Linked DNA regions of Homo sapiens: regions 2, 3, 4 and 5 are each linked to region 1. Evidence: promoter capture Hi-C in 16 types of primary human blood cells and fetal thymus (Javierre and others, 2016). All regions are on one chromosome and are shown on one strand. Each heading gives the region's core, a stretch centred on a gene start or on the middle of the fragment in contact. The rest is flanking DNA. Distances are from core to core; before and after follow the strand shown. Region 1 holds the start of TGM3 (transglutaminase 3). Region 2 has its middle 11 kb from the start of SIRPB2. Region 3 overlaps SIRPD (signal regulatory protein delta). Region 4 holds the start of SIRPB1 (signal regulatory protein beta 1). Region 5 has its middle 120 kb from the start of SIRPA.

The links. Contacts are between HindIII fragments. The CHiCAGO score rates a contact against its expected background, and 5 or more counts as called.
Region 2: a contact is called between a fragment that was not itself captured here and the fragment with the promoter of TGM3 in region 1, in 1 of 17 cell types (neutrophils). The highest score is 5.5, in neutrophils.
Region 3: a contact is called between a fragment that was not itself captured here and the fragment with the promoter of TGM3 in region 1, in 1 of 17 cell types (neutrophils). The highest score is 7.1, in neutrophils.
Region 4: a contact is called between the fragment with the promoter of SIRPB1 here and the fragment with the promoter of TGM3 in region 1, in 8 of 17 cell types (monocytes, total B cells, M0 macrophages and 5 more). The highest score is 13.5, in monocytes.
Region 5: a fragment that was not itself captured here is called in contact with the fragment with the promoter of TGM3 in region 1 in 1 of 17 cell types (neutrophils); the score reaches 5.7 in neutrophils.

The regions. Positions count from the first base shown.
Region 1 is chr20:2,294,626-2,297,469 of GRCh38, forward strand. TGM3 (transglutaminase 3) reads left to right here and starts at 1,376. Exons shown (of 13, transcript NM_003245.4): 1 at 1,376-1,445. The coding sequence starts at 1,439. It overlaps LOC105372503 (a long non-coding RNA gene), which reads right to left. Exons shown (of 3, transcript XR_937203.3): 2 at 2,567-2,665; 3 at 1,196-1,869. RefSeq lists enhancers at 2,080-2,613, 2,614-2,844. The HindIII fragment of the contact is 7,559 bases long and covers 1-1,726 here.
Region 2 is chr20:1,501,139-1,503,982 of GRCh38, forward strand. No RefSeq gene overlaps it. Among named protein-coding and RNA genes, the nearest start is that of SIRPB2, 11 kb to the left of the region's middle. The HindIII fragment of the contact is 8,359 bases long and covers 1-2,844 here.
Region 3 is chr20:1,533,295-1,536,138 of GRCh38, forward strand. SIRPD (signal regulatory protein delta) reads right to left here. Exons shown (of 4, transcript NM_178460.3): 4 at 957-1,147. The coding sequence ends at 1,131. The region is part of intron 2 of LOC105372499 (a long non-coding RNA gene); the gene reads left to right. Among named protein-coding and RNA genes, the nearest start is that of SIRPD, 23 kb to the right of the region's middle. The HindIII fragment of the contact is 7,989 bases long and covers 1-2,844 here.
Region 4 is chr20:1,618,620-1,621,463 of GRCh38, forward strand. SIRPB1 (signal regulatory protein beta 1) reads right to left here and starts at 1,390. Exons shown (of 6, transcript NM_006065.5): 1 at 1,250-1,390. The coding sequence starts at 1,325. The HindIII fragment of the contact is 7,240 bases long and covers 1-2,844 here.
Region 5 is chr20:1,777,870-1,780,713 of GRCh38, forward strand. It overlaps the pseudogene LOC100289473. Among named protein-coding and RNA genes, the nearest start is that of SIRPA, 120 kb to the right of the region's middle. The HindIII fragment of the contact is 6,303 bases long and covers 1-2,844 here.

The sequences.
Region 1 (2,844 bases), core at 126-2,625:
AAGAATGTGCATGTTCCAGCCACGTGTCAAGCCCTGTGCTAGATTCTGAGAAGAAGATTTGAATGATATGCAACCTGTACCTTCAAGGAGCTCAGTCTGGAGATGGGGACATATATAAACAGATAGTTCCAGTGCAGTGGATACATACGGTAATAGAGGTTCTAAGATGTACAAAAGGCTGTAGGGGCCTAAAGGACGGAGAAAGGACACTGATTTCTCTTTTTCAATTTTCCAAGCCACCTGCCTATTCCGTCTTCTCTTTCTCGAGATCAAACATTCTCACTTCTCTCTAAAGACCCAACCTTGTCATCATGGTGCTCAATCTTCCTTCCACACTGTGATGCTGGGGAAAGCCTTGGGGCATTTCTGTTCTCTCGTGAATCCTTGAAGCCTCACTTTAAAAAATATATACTCACTCCTTTGTCCATCGTAAACCTTGATATTTGTAAATATCGATAATAGGAACTTTGAAAAAACATACGCCCTTAGAAACAAGCAAGCAAACAAAAACACGTAGAATGTCAGAGCTTCTCCCCACTCCACACCCTTTCTTTAAACTGATGTCAAGGTGGGCCCAGTGAGGGTCAGTGACGGAACCTGCAGTCTGAGAAAGACATGGCAGAAGCATAAGGTTAGAGGCTGTTCCTGCTGCCTCATTAAAAACAACAATTTTCCCCCAAATCTGGACTGAAACTGACATTCAACGCCAAGTGTGATCTCAGTTTAACCTGCCCTGGTAGATATGCATACACTTCCCATGCGCACCATCTCATGTGATCGTGTCCACAGCTTTGTGAGTTGAGAGGGGTGGGAGTGATTATCCCCAACCACAAGCAAGGCTTCCGGGCTTCAAGGGTTGGAGACCACCCAGGGCTCGGCCAGCATCAGAACCAACGGCTTCTAATTCCAAATCAAATGATGGTTTATGCCACACTACAACCCTAAACAAATGAACTGTGATGTGTCTCACTTCCCTGTGCAAGTGGAAGATGCTAATACATGTGTATCATGAGAAAGGACCTCACAATTTTCTTCTTCTGGGTTCTGCTGAGACGTTTCTTTGATTCAGAGAGAACTTCCCAGGATCAGCAAGAAAAGCATGTCATCATTTCCTAAACCCTACAATCCAGGAAATAGTCCATCATTTTATAAAATTATAAAAGCGAACTATTTGAGTTTCTTTATTATCTGCCCCCTTCTCCCCAAGCTGGTCTTGTACAAACATGATGCACGTCCATTGGGTGACAAGTCTGTCGTAAGTGAAACGTTTACAGGCACTACAGGAATGACCTGGTGCCTCGCCCACTTCATTAGAATTCTAATTGGGGTGTGTAGGAGAGGATTCTATAAATGGTAAGGCAATCCTTGGCAGCCTGTCTGTCAGCACTGTCCGTGCCATTCCCAGAGGAGCCTGAGAAGAGGCAGAGGAAGGCGAAACATGGCTGGTGAGTGCATGGCATCTTCTCCATCAGGTCCTTGCCAGAAGCCTGTGCTTCCCCTGGGCCAGCCTGCCAAGCCAGAGTGTCCGGCCAGGACAGCTGCCTGCCTTGGGGGCTCTGAAGGCCAGACTTCCTATTTTAGGGTGCTAGCCAGAGGCGGCTCTTTCTCAGTGGTGGTTGGGTCCCTCTAGCATATTCTTGGGGTAGAACATCATTGGAATGTAGCTCTGAATAATGGGCAGGGTGTTCAGTGCAGCTGGACATCGCATCTCCTTAGGCAGAGGACAAGCTTTGCCTTGTTTGTGTTTGCGTTTCTTTTACACATCCGTCGCCACCCGTAAAGCCAAAGCAGACAGGACTCGGGTCTCGTGTTTCTCAGTGTAGCTGTATCCAGCTGTCAGCAGTGTCAGCAAAGAAGCACATCTCAGAACTACCAGGGAGTGAGAGTGGTAACATGTAAGTTGATTTGAAAGAAACCATTGTTTATTTCAAATCAACTTACTTAGGAGCATTAGGAATGCTCCTAAGTAAGCTACACATCAGAAGCATCAGACAGGCTCTGTGTAAGTGACTTGATGAGCTGAAGCCTCCCCGTAGCAGGAGCAGGTGTGCCACAAGATGTCCTGGTCCACAGGAGAGCACCAGGGAACAGGGGTTACAAAGAACAACAGGAAGTGCAGGTTCCCCCACTCTATGCTTACTGTCGAGGATATGGGCCTTTGTTAATCAGCACCCCTGCTAAGCAGCATGCTAATTATTATCTGTCTTGTGTGCTCAGCCTAGTAGGTTGACAGGGACGCCAAATCCAAACAAGATATGAGTCAAACTTGTAAAATATTGTGAATGGCGATTAGGGCTGCTGGAAGATTGGCCAAAGACATCACTGAGCCAAATGCAACAGGCAAATGCTGGCTACTTCAGAAGCCACAAAAACTGGGACAGGTGATTGCACATTAGGCCCCCTCCCCTGTCTCCCATTCCTTGCTGTAATGTACAGCATGGCTGGGATGCTAAGAAGAGGAGCTCTGGACCCTACACACTGCAGCAAGAGGGGAGGTCAGATGTCATCTAGCCCATCTCCCTCCCTCCAGGAGGTGGCTGAGGCCCAGGAAGGGGTGGAACCTTACACACAGTGAATCCATCGCAGAGCCAGCTAGGTCTCAGCAGTGCCCTTTCCACCATGTCCTGCTGCCAGAGCTGAGCTCCTACATAAGTGCACATAACATCTGGAACATAAAAAAGCAATTCTGAACCTGGCTTCTCATTTGAGCTTTGTGACCAACTGCTTGTGTGTTCTCTGCCACCCCTGAGCCTCAAGTTTTCAAGATGAAAGCTTTGAAATGAATGCGTTTTGAGGTTCCTTCCAGTACCGACTTTTCTTTCTCCACAAAAAGAAACCAGAGCC
Region 2 (2,844 bases), core at 143-2,642, 790 kb before region 1:
CTCTGGGCCCAGTTCAGCACTAGAACTTGCCTAGGAGTTGTAGCTCTTGGAGCCTAGACTGCCTTTCAAGTTTATTTAGAGCCCCAGAGTACTTTAGCCCACAGTGGTAAGGCTTGCAGGAACTGAAGTTCAGACCACTGAGATTGGATTAGCAATTCCCCTCTGGCTAAGGCTGTTTAAATGCTCCCTCTTTGGGTGGGTAACAGCTGAGTTTGGTCCCATTTTGTTTTCTTTTATAATAGGGCAGCACTGAGTTCAATGCTTCACAACTGCTGTGATCTCCCTTTCCCCAGTGCACAGAAATGCTCTCCACACCATGCTGCCACTGCCAGGGGTTAGGAGAGGGGTGGTGTTGGCTATTCAAGACTTTTTTTCTACCTCTTCGGTGCCTCTTTCAGTGATATGAAGTAAAACCAGGTATTGTAACTGCTCATTTGATTTTTAGTTCTTATGAAGGCTCTTTTATTTGTGTGTACACAGTTGTTAAATTAGTGTCCTTCCTGGGGGAGATGATTGCTGGAGGCTTCTATTCCATCATCTTGCTCTGTTGTTTTTATGTTTTCTCATTTATCTCTTTTAACTGAGGTATTTATTTGCCTTTAAAGTAATTACTGACATGGAAGGACTTACTATTTTCGTTTTGTTACTTGTCTATATATATGGATAATACATTCAATATATTTTAATATGTCTTGTCCAGTGGTTTTTGCTCCTTTTCTCCTTTGCTGCCTTCTTGTATGTTTTGTACTGACATATTTTGATTCTCTTTTCAATTCTGTTTGTGTATACAGACAGTACCTGAATGTAAGCCCAGCATAAGATAAAAAGTTCCTATGATTTACAATGGGGTTATGGTTTCTACTAAATGTGTATTATTTTGCATAATTGTAGAGTTGAAAATTTGTAAGTTGAACATAAGTCAGGGACAGTATGCTGTGTTGCCAGCATCAAATGCAATTTTGACTTACAATATTTTTGACTTCTGATGGGTTTATTCTTATGTTATCCCATCATAAGTTGAAGAGCATTGGTATTCTATTCATATTTTATTTGTCATCACCATTGCAACTACACAAAGAGACTTAAAGTTATAGCAAGATATTTTAAACCGATAACAACTTAACTTAAATTGCATATAAAAACTCTACTTCTTTACTTCTCTGCCCTCTTTATGTTACTGTAACAAAACAAATTACCTCTTTTTATATTGTGTATTCATCAACATAGATTTTTAGTTACTTCCCATGCTTTCGCTTTTAAAATTCTATACCAAATTCAAAAGTGATTTATACAGCTATGTTACAATACTTCCAGATTTTATATTTGTCTCTATGTTTATGTTTACCTGGTAGATTTATACTTTTGTATGGCTTTGTGTTGCCATTCATCATCTTTTCATTTCAACTTGAAGGATTCCTTTCAGCACTTCTTTCAGGGCAGGTCTAATGGTGATGAATTCCCTCAGTTTTGTTTATCCAGGAAAGTCTTCATTTCCCCTTCATTTTGAAGGCAGTTTAGTACTATATAGTATTCTTTGTTGGCAGTTATTTTTTCTCTCATCACATCCCACTCCTTCTAGCCTACAAGGGTTCTGTTGAGACTTTAGCTGATGATTTAATAGGAGCTCCTTTGTATGTGACAAGTTGCTTTTCTCTTGCTGCTTTCAAGATTCACTCTTTGTCATTTTTTTTTTAAAACAAAGTTTCCCTCTGTCACCCAGGCTGGAGTGCAGTGGCGTGATCACATCTTGCTGTAGCCACAAATTCCTGGGCTCAAGTGATCCTCCCACTTCAGCCTCTTTTCTATTTTTGACAGTTTAATTGTGTCTTAGTGTAAATGCTGTTAGATTCGTCCTGGTTGGAGCTTGTTGAGCTTTTTGAATTTGTATGTCTACTTTTTCCCTCAGATTAGAAAAATTTCCAGCCATCATTTTTTTTAAAAGTCTCTGTGGTGCCTTCTCTTTTTCTTGTCTGTCTTAGATTCTCATAGTGTGTAGGTTGTTCCATAATGTTACACATAGTGTCCCATAAGTTTCTTATGCTCCTTTTACTTTTCTTAGTTCTTTTTTTCTCCTTTGCTTCAGTAATTTCAAAACTCCTGTCTTTGAATTTGCTGATTCTTTCTTCTCTTGGTAACATCTGTTCCTAAGCCCCTCTAGTGGATTTTTAAATTTAGTTATTGTATTCTGCAGTTCCAGAATTTCTGTGTGGTTCTTCTTCATAGCTTCTATCTCTTTTTTGATATTTTCTTTTTGTTCATCCATTGTTTTCCTGATTTCATTTAGTTGTCTGTCTGTACTCTCTTTTAATTCATTGAAAATTCTTATGATTATTATTTTGCATTTTTTTGGTCAGATAATTCGTGTATTTTTTTGGGGTCAGTTTCTAGAGATGTAATGTGTTTCTTTGAATAGGCCATGTTTTCCTGTCCCTTTATATGTCTTCTTATCTTCTCTTGGTACTTTGGCATTTGAAAACTCAGCTACCCCGTGCAGTCTTTGTGGTCTGGTTTTCTACAGGGAGGACTTTCTCCAATCAGCCTGGCTAGAGAATCTGGAGACCTGTCAACCCTTCTCTGGGAATGCACCCTTTTGGGACTTAGTGTGTAATCACGTAACGGAAGAGGTCTTTCTATTGAAGCGCTCCCTCTAGTGTCTGCCTATGATGCTGCGGTCTGGCTGGTGCTGCAGTAAGCCACGGTACTGAAGTTCCACCTAGTTTCTGTCTGTGATACTGCAGACTGATGCTAGAACAAACTAATAGCTCCACCTATTATTTATCTGTGATACTGCATATTTTGGTGCTAGACCAAGTCATGTTGATCATCTTCGTTTTCAGTGGCCTC
Region 3 (2,844 bases), core at 248-2,747, 760 kb before region 1:
TGTTCCTTCACTGTGACCTCTCACTATCCCCATCTTCTATTCATAATCTTGGCACAAGGGCTAACAAAGGGGGAGCCTTAGGCTAGGCTCCCAGGGATTGTAATTTGTTTTAGAACAATGCGCTGGATTTCTAGGGATCTGTACTCCACCATGCACAAACATCTGGGTGCCTTGTCCAGACTTAATCTTCATGTAGGCTTCCTTTCTGGAATTTCACACAGTAGTAGGTGCCGGCTCTGCTGGTGTGATGCTTCTGATACAGATGGAATAGTTTGTGCTCTTTCTATTTGTGATGTCTGAAACAGTTCTTATCCAGGGGAAGTTGCCTTCTTTTTGACTGTAGATTAATTCCCGGCCTGGTCCAGCTCCTCTGAACCACTGGATGGGCCCTACGGGGATCAGGGAGGTCACAGTGCAGTGTAGAGTGGCCGCTTCTCCAGCTGCGACTGACACGGACTTCTCAGGCTGAATTACCCGCAGCTCCTCCTCACCCGCCACTCCTGGAAGAACACACGTCAGCTCCAAGCTCCAGCTGGGGATGAGGCTGCGGTCCAGGTGCCTGGGTTCAGATTGCATTTGAAGCCCCATTCATTCTTTCTTTCCATATCATGTATTAGCTTTTAGGATGGGCACATTCCTTAACTGGGTATCAAGAGAGACATAGAGACAAGATAGACAGACAGCCCTTGCTAAGGACACAGTCAGGAAGTCAAAAGAGAAGAAATACTTCTAGAAAAGATGTTCAACAACACCAGTAATCCAGTGAAGTGCATAGTTAAACCACACACAAATTGCTAACGTCCATGACAGACTAGCTGGAAAAGTTTTTAAAAAAAATGTACGCAGGTTTCAGCATATGAAAGTTAGAGCACATTTTCAGGCTGCAATAAATAGTAGAGGCAGGTTGGTACCAAGGCAAGCAGAGAGGTCGATGAAACAGAAGAGAGAACCTGGAATTGGACCCAGGTAAATAGACAGATTTATTGTACGATCAAGCTGGCATTTTATGTCAGTGGAAGAAAGCTCTCTTGAAGAAGGCAAATGAAACTCCTAAAAAGTAGCTGTCTCCAGGGAGTCAGAAGAGTATGGGGGCTTTTGTTATTTACTTGTACGTTCCTTCCCTGTTTGGATTATTTTGACAGCAAGCCTGAAATACAATAAAAATAAAATAAAATAAAACATTTCTCCCTCCTGCAAGCTAAGAGCAGACACAATTTTTAGAATATTAGCTTAGCAAACATGAAAAAGATTGCCAATTTTCTGTGTTGCTAAGGTTGTGGTGAGGCAGGCGCTCCCACATACTGCTGGTGGGAATAACAATGGACACGATCTCTCTAGATGGCAATACAGCATCACAGTCATGATCTTATGATCTATGTCCACGTGACAAACCCATATTTAAACAAGTAAAGTGGAGATACTTTAACCAAATCTGTTTTGGTCCCAAATGTTCAAAATACCCCCTGTCCATTGCTGCTGCTTCTGTGCTGGGTGTGGTGAGATAATATATTACTGATATTGAGACACTCACGTTTCATTGGGAAATGGCTTTTGAAACCAAAAAACACTTTTGAAATGCAATTTCCCAATAAAACTCATACCCTTTGATTTAGTAATTCCTCTTTGACGGCCTTATTCAAAAGAAACAATCAGACAAGGGTGAATATGATTTGTAAAGGAATGGTAATCATAGTATTTACAATATAGAAAAGTTTGATGCATGGCCCATGTCCAAGAATAGGAGTGAGTTAGATAAATGATGGTACAACCACAAAATGGAAAACTATGTAGAGATTGAAATGATAGTGTTGATGTATATATTGGGGATGTATTGATGATGTTGCAGACACATATATATTTACATAGAAAAGGGTCCCCAATTTATCATTGAGTAAAAGAACAAATAAACCACCATATTTTGTGTAATCTTATTTTTGTTAAAAGTTCGATGTATCTAGAAGCAGCACAGTGAAGAGGTCAAAGTAAGAGCTAGTGGAGTCCCATTGACCCAGGTTTCAATGCCTCCTCTATTGCTTGATTGCTATAGTTTAAATATTTGTCCCCTCCAAAATTCATGTTGAAATTCAATCCTCAATGTGCAGTATTGAGAGGTAGGGTCTTTAAGAGGTGATTGGGTCATAAGGACTCTGCGTTATTTCACAAATTAGTGGATTAATGGGTTATCATGGGAGGGGAACTGTTGGTTTTATAAGAAGAGAGAGAGAGACCCAAGTATAGTATGCTAGCATGCTCAGTCCCCTCACCATGTGATACCCTGTGCTGCCTCAGGACTCTTTAGAGAGTCCCCACCAGCAAGAAAGCTCTCACCAAATATGGCCCCTTGACCTTGAACATCTCAGCCTTTACAACTATAAGAAATAGGTTCTTTTTCTTTATAAATAATCCAGTTTCATGTATTCTATTCTAAGCAACAGAAAAAGGACTGACATTGGTGTTTTACTTTGCGAAAATAACCTCCCTGAGGCTCTGTTTTCTTATCTATGTAATGTATACAATGTGGAAAGTAAAACTTCCTCTTGCAATTTTGTTGTGATACTGAAACCTGAAAATCTTTGAGAAACACTCAGGACTGTGCTCATAGAAGGACTTCTGTGAAATGGGCTTTCCATTCTTAACTGCAAGTCCAGTAGGCCAGGCTCCAGCCCTGACAACCTGGTGATTCTAGGAAGCGCACACCATTGCTTGGCTTTCAGTTCCTTCTTCTACCAAGCCTGATGGACCTTTCTCAGTTCCCATGACTTCTGTGAGTTCTAAGTGAAGACATAGACTTGCCAAAGACACAGAGTGAGAGTTGCAATGGCCGGATGCAGCAGGACTATTTTC
Region 4 (2,844 bases), core at 140-2,639, 680 kb before region 1:
TGCCCTCTAGGGCCTGTGAGGTGACATCACAGCAGGGCCCAGTGGGGAATTGAGAGGCTGCTGTGCCCAGCCCTGTGGTTCTGGGGTCAGCTCCATGGCCTGAGAAGGGATCAGGACAGGTAACTTGTCTGGGAGCTGTGAGCAGGGTTCTCCCAGGCTGCACCAGGAAAGGCCCTCCAATCCTGCCTGTCTTGGGAAGGGGAAAGAAATTATCCATGGGAAATTTAAGAGAACCAAAGGAGGTTGTAGTACCTGTTATGGGCTGAATGTGTCCCACAAAATGCATGTGTTGAAGCTCTAATCCCCAGCACCTCTGAACGTTACAGTTTGGGAGACAGGGTCTTTAAGAAGTAATTTAGTTAAATGAGGTCATTGGGGTGGGCCTTAATACAACAAGACTGATATTCTCATAAGAAGAGGAGATGAGGACACAGACACACACAGAGGAAGATCATGTGTTTAAGACACAGAGAGAAAATGGCCCTGTATAAGCCAAGGAGAGAGACTTCAGTAGAAACTAACCCTGCTGACACCTTGATCTTGGACTTCAGCCTCCTTAACTGCAAGGAAGTAAATATCTGTAGTTTCAGCCACCCAGCCTGCAGTTCTTTGTTATGGAAGCCCTAGGAAAGGAATATAGGACCCAGTAAGCAGCAAATGTGGAACTTCTTAAAGAGGAAGAGGCCACAGAGAAATGGGTGGTAAGAATCAGGTCACAGGGGAGGGAGGAGCATGGGGGAACAGAGGACAAAGTGAGGAGCACCCTTAGGGAGGATGGTGGCTGAACACTCCCAGGATACACCACACCACTGCCCTACTCAAGTGAGCACTATTACAGACTTCACATCCTCAGTTTGGTGAAGAGAGAGGGCTGGGCCTAGAGCCACATAACCCTGTTAGGGTGTCTCTGAGCTTACTCTGTGGACTTGGGCATGTCACTTGGCCCTAGGGCCTCAGGACTGGTGAGGATTTAGATAATGATTCTTCTCTGCTTTTTCAATTGAAATATTATCAAAATGTAAGTAATTGTTGTTGTGGTGGTTGAATCGTCCTGTGGTTCAATGCCTCTGGTAGCCAGCTGCAGATCCACAGAGAAAGTGCTCAGCTCCCTGATTTTCTGCTCTCAGTCAAAGCCTAATCCTTGGCCTTTCTTGGCAGCACTTGTCATTGTCCGGAATCCCTGAAAGTCCAGGGACAGGCCATGGCTCAGTGGGCAGGAAAAAAGATTTTAACCGAAGGCAGTGCTCACCTGTGAGTCTCCCCAGCAGTAGCGTCATCAGCAGGAAAGGACTAGGAAGGTGGGGCCAGGAGGCTGGCACGGGCATTCTGGAGACCTTAGGAGCCTGCTCTGTCCAAACGTCTGTGCTGGGAAGATCGCAGACTCTGCTCTGAGGAGAGAAGACAAGCCCTGCCTCCCTTAGTTCAAGAGGAAGTGGCTGCGATGGAGTGAAGCAGTAACCTGCTTCTGGATTGTGAAACAGAAATCAGGAACAGCAAGCAGCTACAATGCAAGCAGTTATGCATGCCCCATTTCAGGAGAATCAGACAGGCTTAGCAGAAATAATGCTTCCTTCCCACCTGAGGTCTTAACTCCTTCCATGACTCCTAACCCCATCTTTATGTCTTCTTGGTGATTTGCCATTTGGTGCTCTTAAGCCAGGAAGGACCTGTGGTTATGAAATGTTTCCTAAACTTTCCATCTCAAGACCTCAGGATGTGGTTGGCTTGTGGTCTCATTCTACAACAGCCTCAACCAAGTGCTACTCAGTTGGGGCAGGATGAGGGATCACTGGACCTGCTCAGTGTTGGAGAGGAACAGGTCTGCTCTTGAAATGGTTCCCTATTCCGAACTTTTATAAATATAAATGGCAAAACTTAGCCCAAATTCAGTCTCATGTGGCCGTTAGCACTTTCATATGCCTGCACCCAGCAGAAGGAATTATTTCCTGACTTCTTCCAGGAGAGGAAGTGGGCTTAGGGTAATAAGGATCTGCTTTGTGAGGTGAGGTGGGGATTATGGGTTATGGAAAGGGGATATGTTTATTATGGGGGAGAATATGGAGGGCAGATTCCTGGAGCAGTCACATCGATTTCAATACTCTTTGCTCTGCACATAGAACACCTATTCCATTCATCACTGTCTTCAGATGGGAACTGAGGAGGGAGGGAGAATAAATACCCTAAGAAGATGTGCTAAGGAGTTGGGGAAGTTACTGGGCCTGCCTAGGTTCAGTTTTGCCTTCTAACCTTGGGATAATAAGTCTCACTGCCATGTTTTAGTGAACATCAAAAGAGATAATGACTATACATCCCTGAGATTCAGTAGGTTATTATTGATACTCATGGTGCCAGGTGAAGAGAGGGAACTCAAATATTGCTTTTAAATGGATTTCTACTGCATGCTGAGTTTCCCACCAGTGGCCTTCTCCCATGTTCCCCGGACTTCTGGAACCCAGCTTTTATGGTGTACTTGGTCTACCTCTGACACTCTGAGATCAATTTCTCCCTCTGGATCCTCTTCACCCTGCTTTTTGTCAATCTGTAGATGAATTCCTTTTCTTACAATCTCCAGCTGTGTGACTTTCAACAAGACACTTGACTTCTCTAAGCCTTAACTTAATTACATGTAAATGGAAGTTATAACATGCACCTTGTAGTGATATGGTAAGAGTAATATAAGCCATACAGAAGGTTTGATTCATATTTAATTATAACCAAAAAATTGTGGCTATAATTACATTTGTGTACAGGGTGAGTTCACTGCTTCCCTGACATACTTGTGCTTTAGAAAAATTTCCTTGGTAGGAGAAATGGTTTCTCCTCCATCATCTGTGACTAAGAAAG
Region 5 (2,844 bases), core at 252-2,751, 520 kb before region 1:
ACCTAAAACCAAAGTTAAAAAAATAATAATAAGATAATATAAAAATACTCAAAAAAGAGAGAAAGTGAAGAGGACAAGGAAAAAGAGAAGGATGGAAGGAGAAGGAAAGTGAGGGGGAAAAGGAAAGGGAAAGGAGGAGGAGGATCTGTTTGACCCCGTGTAAGGGCCTGTCCTGACCCCATGTAAGGGTCTGTCCTGACCCCGTGTAAGGGCCTGCCCTGACCCTACGTAAGGCCGTGCATGGACCCTCTTTTCCAGCTGAATTCAGAATTCTGGCCTCTGTTTAAAGTTGCCATCCAGAAACTTTCAACTGTGCCAGTCTTGATTAATAGCCTTTCTAGAAGGCACTTTGGTGCTCAGCAGTCCTTAACCTCTGCCATTTCTTGCAGTCAAGTGTTAAGGTGGAGAACTTTCAACATCAAGAATGCATGGAATTAGGGAAGGGGAGTCCCACCCTTTCTTCTTGGGGAGGGTGTGGAGGAAGGCGTGAGAAGTGGAGTCTGGGGGCGAATGTGTGAGAGTTGTATCACCAGCTGCGGGTATCCTTCCTTCCTTCACCATCATCCAATGCCGCCCTGAGTCTCTGACCCTCCCCAGCCGTGCTGCCCACAGGGGATGTCCAGAGGGGCTGGGCCAGAGGCTGTACCCACCTTTCCCCTGCCTGCGCACCTGGGCTTGCAGGGTGACGTTGGCCTTGAGTGGGGGCTGCTCATCGTGGACCACCCAGCAAGCAAACTCACGCTCCTCCAGCGTGGCCTCTGCCTGCCACGTGTGCTCCAGAGAGTATGTCCCATCTGGATTTCTGGTGGCCTGAGGGGACGAGGGGACACCAGGGTCTGGATCATGCTCCTGTTCTCCATCCAGGTGAGTCGCAGGTGGGCGGGATAGAAGTGGAGGACGTGGCAGGTGAGATTCACTCTGTCTTGCACATGTACATGGGTCCCAGAGGTTTCAGTGGTGATCTTCAGGGTGGGGACAACTAGACAGAGGAATAGGAAGTAAGACCTGGTGAAATCAGCCCCTGCCTGTGGCCACCCATGCTTCCCTCTCCCAGGGAACAGCCTCAAGGTCTCTCGCCTTTTTTTAAAGAAATATTTTTTTCTTGTATGCGTAATGTAAAGCAAATAGGGCTAAATGTTAATATTCATTAAATATGGGTAAGGGTACCTGGGTGTCTGCTATATTCTGTATTTTTGAAATATTTCATATCAGAAAATATAATTTTAAGAATTAGTAAAAGGTGATGCCCATGACGACAGGGACTTTATTTTGCTCGTTGCTGCATCCCCAGCACTGAGCACAGGGTCTGGCATACAGTGGATATTCATTATTATTAAATGAATAATAAACATTTAAAAAAAAAACTGTAACAATGACATTAATAGAACAAAGATGTTTAGAAAGGGAGTCTGGGACCAGATAATAACAAGATCAAACATTCGTAAGTAAGTCACTGCATGCCAGGCACTGTTATGTGTGTTTTATAAGGAATAATTCATTTAATCTTCACAGGACAGCTATGAAGTAGGTCCTCATTTTTTTCCTGTTATATAAAGAAACTGGTATTAAATAGTCAAGTAACTCACAAGATCCCACAAGTTGTAAAGTGGCACAGCTAGGATTAAAACCCAGACAGCGAGCCCCTGGAACCTGCGCTTATAACCACAATACACATGATCAGAAATCCATGAGGAATTTCATTTCCCCATTTATGAAATGAGGCTTTGGGCAAAAACCCTGAAAGCTGGATGCTTCCAGGGTTAATGTCCACCCCACCTGACTGCCCATTCACCTCAGAGCACTTGGGAGAGATTCATGGTTGTTTTCAGGGGCTCTGCCAGGGCCCTGTGGGTGACTTCGCAGGTGATCTCAGATGAGACATCCTGTCGGGTCAGTGTCACCCATGCCTTGCTGGTGATGAAGTCATTGCCTCCATTGTCAGGCACCAGGCGCTGAGCTGAGGCTGGATGTTCATCACTGTCCTTCAACCACGTAACATTGAAGTCCCGGGAGAAGTCCTGGGAGTTGAAGGGGACAGCAGTACAGTTGAAAGGCACTGAGTCTCCAGGGCTTGTCCTGTGAGATGGACCAGTCAGAGAGATGAAGGGCTGTCCAGCTAAGGAAAGAGCAATTGTGATTGTACACTGAGAGTGGGACACACCCCACAGGCACCAGTGGCACCAGAGCTGTGTCAGGCCCTGGGGGCCTACTATATGCTGTGTCTGATTCTGTCTTCAGGCAGCATATCGGCATTTGATCATAAGAAAACAAGCAAATGCAAATGTGATTATGACTGATCCCAGTGCCATCAAGGAAACCCAAAGACTGCATAGATGGAGAATACAGGGAGGACTTATTCTAGAAGGGCAGCTGGGGAAGAATTACTTGAGGAGGTGACATCATTGAGCTGAAACTCAGGAATGAATAGGAGCCAGCAATGGGAAGGGACAGAGGAAGGACATTCCAGACAGCGGGGACAGCAGGAGAGAAGGACCTCAGGCAGGAAGGGCTTGGTGGGCTTGAGAAACTGAGAAGTCTGTAGGGGACCCTAGTGTCATGGCAAAGAGGTCCAGAGTGAGAAGAGCCTGGGGACCATGGTGATGATCTTGATTCTATTCTGAGAGTGATGGGAAACCAGCAGAGACTTTAACAGAGGGGCAAAGTGGTCTGATGTACATTTTTTAGAGGATAACTGGGGTTGTTGTGTGGAGAATGGGAAGGAGCGTGGCAGGAATGGAAGCAGGGAGACCAGTGGGGAAGCTGGTACAGACCTCCAGGCCAAGGTGATGGTAGCCTGGACTAGGGTGGTGAGAAAAGGAGGCTCGAGACACATTTGGAAGATAC